2 separate regions of the Homo sapiens genome follow, and region 1 is linked to region 2. Evidence: promoter capture Hi-C in 16 types of primary human blood cells and fetal thymus (Javierre and others, 2016). All regions are on one chromosome and are shown on one strand. Each heading gives the region's core, a stretch centred on a gene start or on the middle of the fragment in contact. The rest is flanking DNA. Distances are from core to core; before and after follow the strand shown.

Region 1 (2,700 bases), core at 36-2,535, 650 kb before region 2:
TACTCCCTTGAAGCCAGCAGAGGGAGACAGATCTGAGCTGGACTCCTGTCTCCCTGGGAACAATAAAAGCTTTGCTTTTCTCACAAACCTGGTGTCATAGTCTTGGCACACTGGGCAGTGACCCTTTGGCTCCATGACAAACATGATGGTCTAGGGACCCTGCTTCTCTCCTGTTCAGTCTCAGGTGACCCAAGGACTAGACCATGCATCCTCTTCCTTCTTACCTATCTTCATATCCTCATGAGAGAAGGGAGGGTTATCAGCCTCTGAGGATGCAGATGTTGCGCTCAGCCCCAGGATCCCCAGGAGACTGGCAAAGAAGATCATAGCTTTGACTGTTCAGGGTGGCCTTGGACACAAGTTGTACCCTTAAGGAATACCCTTCTCTGACCAGTATGGTGGTTCATGCCTATAATCACAGCACTTTGGGAGGCCAGGGAGGGAAGACTGCTTGAGCCCAGGAGTTTTGAGACCAGCCTGGGCAACATACTGAGACCTCGTCTCTGCAAAAAAAAAAAAACATAATTAGTCAGGTGTGGCGGTGCACATTCCTAGCTACTAATCAGGTTAAGGCAAGAAGATTGCCTGAGCCCAGGAGTTTGGGGAAGCAGTGAGTTGTGATCATGCCTTTGTACTCTCGTTTGGGTGACAGAGCAAGGCTCTGTCTCAAAGGAAAGAAGGAAAGAAGGAAGGAAGGAAAGAAGGAAGGGAGGGAGGGAGGGAGGGAGGGCGACACTCTTCCTTATAACAAGAAACAGCTTGCATTCTATAAAAGCAATGATGTGATTTCTTAAAGGCATTATGAGCCTAACTCCATGATATCAGATCATAGGATATTACAGTCAAATTGTGTATCAACTAGTCCATCATTTCACAGATAAGTAAATTGAGTCCCAGAGAGTTCGGTTACTTTCCTAAGATTACAGAAGTCCTCAACCTTGCTAATCTGATGTTCTTTCTTTTTCAACATACTGTTGGCTATATATGTCCTTTGTAAATAAAGGAACAGAGCCATTATCGTGGAATGACTGACTTAGAGAACGCTCCATGGACATTTGCTTCGACCTATATCCCATGCCTTTCTCCATTTACCCCCAAATTGACATAGAAAAAGATCAGCCAGATACAGTGGCTGGGAGGGCAACATAGTGAGACCCCGTCCCTACGAAAAATCAAAAAATAAGCTGAGCACCAGTGGCATGCGCCTGTGGTCCCAGCAACTTGGGAGGCTGGGGTGGGAGGATCGCCTGAGCCTGGGAGGTTAAGGCAGCAATGAGCAGAATGCTGTCACAGAGAAGGAACTCAATAAATACTTGGTAAAATATTTATTTTGGGGGTTAGAAGTAGACTTGGGAAATTTGGTTTTCTTTGATTCCATATTTCACTAGGGGGAAATAAAGATGTAAAACAGAGACATAAAACATGCCATTAGCTTTATGGGCCTTGGGACAGTGGGGTTCCCAGTTTTCCCGGGAGATGACGATGGAATGCATTCAGGCAGCTCCCACAATACAATTTTCCCATCTCTAGTGTCCTATTGGGAAGGTATCTCCACCTCCTTGTAGCCTCTCCATGCTGAATACACTTAAAACTCTAACCTCCTTTCCCCCAAAGGAGCTCCTTCCTTAGACTCTCCAGGTGCTGTCCTTGATGCTAATCTTTCTTCTGGTCAGCCTTTTGTTTTTCATGTAAAAATGACTTATTTCATTACTTACTGGACCTTTTCCACAAAATGCCTGGAATCAAATAAAAAATGACTGGATTCTCAAGTCAACCTTTCTGGACGCCTGCCTCTCCCCCTGTGCCAAGGACCCATGACCTGCTTGCTGCCTGGGCTCTTTGTGTGGTTTGGTTGCTTTTCTCAGACTTGAATGCTTCCCACTGAAATCCTACAATTGGGCACATAGCACTCCCTATTGAAAATGTATAATAGCTTCTCATTATACAAGCTCTTCACTTTGGCTTTTAGAATCATGTGCCGTCTCCTTTCCTATTTGCCTCCCGCCTGCCAAACTCATTATCCAATCATTCCCTCTTCAATCAGTCCCACCTTTCTACCTTTAGGTCCTTTTCCAGAATCCAAACTTTAATCAAAGAGATAAAGCAGGCCAAGACCCAATGTCCATTACTTAATAAGCCCTCAATAGACATTAGCTTTCTTCAAAGTCCTCATCAACTCCTTTCCTTGGCTGCGCACAGTAGCTCAGACTTTGAGAGGCTGAGGTGGAAGGCTCACTTAAGCCCAGGAGTTTGAGACAAACCTGGGCAACATAGTGAGACCCCGTCCCTACGAAAAATCAAAAAATTAGCTGAGCACCAGTGGCATGCGCCTGTGGTCCCAGTAACTTGGGAGGCTGGGGTGGGAGGATCGCCTGAGCCTGGGAGGTTAAGGCAGCAATGAGCGGTGATTGCAGCACTGACCTCCAGTCTGGGCAACGGAGCGAGGTTTTGTCTCAAAAACAAAACCAAACAAAATCCCGCCCAAAACAACTCCTTTCTGGGAAGCTTTCCCTGAGCAACCCAGCTCACCTCTGTTTGTCTTCACTGCCTGTTTGACATTTAGCTTAAGTTACCTTGTGCTGTTATCTTTTAACCCTGATCTGTATTTTAACCCTCAAGCACAAGGTCTCATGGCTGTGTATTTCCACCTCTGTGTATGGTGTCCTATAGACAGTGAGAGCTTAACATCTCGCGTCAGTG
Region 2 (2,700 bases), core at 192-2,691:
TTTAATTATTGCAGAGCTCATAGAAAGCCAGGCTCCAATTATTAACACTTTAAGGACTGGGCGCTGTGGCTCACGCCTGTAATCCCAGCACTTTGGGAGGCTGAGGCGGGCCGATCACCTGAGGCCAGGAGTTCAAGACCAGTCTGGCCAACATGGTGAAACTGCATCTCTATTAAAAATATAAAAATTAGTCAGGCGTGGTGGTGGTGCCTTTAGTACCAGCTACTTGGGAGGCTGAGGCAGGAGAATCGCTGGAACCCGATGATGGAGGCTGCAGTGAGCCAAGATTGTGCCACTGTACTCCGGCCTGGGCAACACAGTGAGACTGTCTCAAAACAAAAACAAAAACAAAAAACAAAACAACAAAACAAACAAAAACACAACTTTAGTACGACTATACCCATCCATTCACTCAACATATATGATGAACCTACAATTTCCTGTTCACTAGGGATATATTTTCCAGCTGAGGGCATATACATTTAAACTAATTATTTTCAGTAAAACATGGAGTGAGCGCTACAGGAGTCCAGAAGGAAGGGGCTAGCATAGCCACTTACCTTCTTTGCCTTTGCTAACAGATCTCTAAAGTGAAGTACGCTGATTTTGCAAAAACCAAAGTCTCAGAGCTAGGGGACTTGGTGGGATACAGACTCACGTATTCTGACTGCGAGTTCACAGCTGAGATACCGTGAACAAAAAGGAACCACTCTTTTGTATTCCTCTCTTTCCCAAGGAGTCAGTGTACTCCTTTGCAAAGCAATTTTCACCTACAGAGTCCTAACAAATATTAGCTATGTCCTCTGATTTAAGCTACTCAACTCAATGCCATGTTTTGTTTTCCTTTGGGGAGTCACCAACTAGCTTGGACTTGAAAGACGTCTTCTGTGCAAGGGGAGGCAAATCTTGCTGGTTGGAAGCAGCAGAATCAATCTGGCGCCAGTATCATCTGAATCTAGCATTCTTTGCACAAACTCTAATCCAAATACAAACCCACCAGCTTTTACTGCTGAAGTTTAATATTCACAGCAAAACCACAACGTGGCCTCACGTTACCACCAGGCCCGGCTTGAGCTTTTTACTCGAGCTGGGCTTGGGCGATCTAAAACGAGGGACAGGGCCTGCATTTCCTGGGCGGAATGTTATTTATAGCCAGGGCCAGGAGAAGCCAAAGCCGACAGCTGCTGCGCCGCAGCGCGGGGCCGCCGCCATGCAAGCAGTTGTCACACCGCTCACCTTCACAGTCGGCCCCTGGCCGCCCCCCGGCCTCCTGGCCCTGCGTCAGCACCGGGTGAGAGACCAAAAGCCCGGCGCAAAAGGCCACCACAGCAACTGGGCTCGCGCACCACATGCTGGGCCAGCAGCTTCAATCGCCTCCGCCACCCGCGCCCACCGCCCACCAAGCTGCCAAAGCGAGCTGAGCAGAATTCGAGGTTGGAAAGAATCTGCCAGTAGTTGCCAGGACAAATGACGCAACTGAACACAGAGTTTCCATTGGCTCTCAAGGAAGGGATAGGAAGGGGGCGGAGTGTAGGAGCCTTTTCCCGTCCCTCCCCGGTTGCGCGTGCGCACTGTGCAGTTTCCGCGGAGCGCAGAGACGCGCTGAAGCTACTCGCGGACTGCGCGTGAAGAAAGGCGGAACCTTCACGCTGATTGGCGGCGACGCGGGAGGCTGTAGCGGCCGACCGGACGCAGGGGGCTGGCGGGAACGTGAAGCTCCGCGGTGCCTGATGGGGCCGTTGGGCGGCCGGTAGCTGTTGCTGTTGGGGGACCCCCTCATTCCTGCCGCTGCCGTCCCTGCTGCCTCATGGCGGCCATCGGAGTTCACCTGGGCTGCACCTCAGCCTGTGTGGCCGTCTATAAGGTGAGGGGCTGCGGAGCTGGGCTAGGGCTTCATGACGGCCACCCGGTTTTCTGGCGCTGGGTCATCCACAGGCTTGAGAGCGGCGTGTCGCCGGCCTAGGGATGTCGTGGAGTGGCGTTGCCGCGAGGACACTCCGGAGCGAAGGGCCGGGCAGGCCCGGCCTCGCGCCTGGCGATTCCTCCGGAAAGTCGTCTACTCCGCGGCGGAGGCTCGCGGCGATGTAGACGCGCGGGGTCCCAGGGCGTCATGGCGGCGGGATGCCCGGAGGGGTCCCAGGGACGACGTAGCTGCAGGGTGCCCGGGGGGGTCCCGGAGACAGCGGGGCCGCTGGGTGTCCCGGGGGGTCCCGGGGACGGCGGGGCTGCGAGCATTTTGGGGGAGGTCACGGGGACGTCCTGGCCTCTGGATGCCGGAAGGGGTCTCGCTGACGTCAGGGCCTCAGGATTCCCGCGGGTGGGAGGTCCTGGGAAAGTTGTGGCCGCGAGGTACTTGGAGGCGGTGGTCTCTGGGACAGCAGGGCCGCAGAACGCGCTGAGCTGGGCCCGAACGTCTAGGTCCCGGAGGGGCGGGGAGGCTGCAGTCGAGCTGGGGCTGATGGTCCCGCAAAGCTGCCTGGCTGTGAAGCCAGTTGATGGTGCGTGGTCTACAGAGGTGGCCTTTCTGGAAGTGAGAGCCTGACAGGACTTGTGGCCTTTCTCTCATCAGTGGGGAGGCAGAAGAAACGATAATCATGAACTCCGTTGCCACTAGTCCCGCGTTTAAATGTCAAATGACTTGTTAGGAAAAGCCAAAGGGAATAATACTACTTCATTTGTAGAAATGGGAAGAAAGGGGCC

Evidence for each region. The method cuts DNA at HindIII sites, captures the fragments that hold promoters and counts their contacts. A CHiCAGO score of 5 or more calls a contact.
Region 1: a contact is called between a fragment that was not itself captured here and the fragment with the promoter of CDNF in region 2, in 1 of 17 cell types (naive CD8 T cells). The highest score is 5.4, in naive CD8 T cells.

What each region holds. Positions count from the first base shown.
Region 1 is chr10:14,186,451-14,189,150 of GRCh38, forward strand. All of the region lies in intron 2 of FRMD4A (FERM domain containing 4A), which reads right to left. It overlaps LOC124902378 (a long non-coding RNA gene), which reads left to right. Exons shown (of 2, transcript XR_007062060.1): 2 at 1-12. Among named protein-coding and RNA genes, the nearest start is that of FRMD4A-AS3, 110 kb to the left of the region's middle. The HindIII fragment of the contact is 2,436 bases long and covers 68-2,503 here.
Region 2 is chr10:14,836,596-14,839,295 of GRCh38, forward strand. It overlaps CDNF (cerebral dopamine neurotrophic factor), which reads right to left and starts at 1,442. Exons shown (of 4, transcript NM_001029954.3): 1 at 1,237-1,442. The coding sequence starts at 1,351. It overlaps HSPA14 (heat shock protein family A (Hsp70) member 14), which reads left to right and starts at 1,711. Exons shown (of 14, transcript NM_016299.4): 1 at 1,711-1,864. The coding sequence starts at 1,808. It overlaps MSANTD7 (Myb/SANT DNA binding domain containing 7), which reads left to right and starts at 1,711. Exons shown (of 5, transcript NM_001378785.1): 1 at 1,711-1,864. RefSeq lists a silencer at 1,495-1,604 and an enhancer at 1,755-1,994. The HindIII fragment of the contact is 8,843 bases long and covers 1-2,700 here.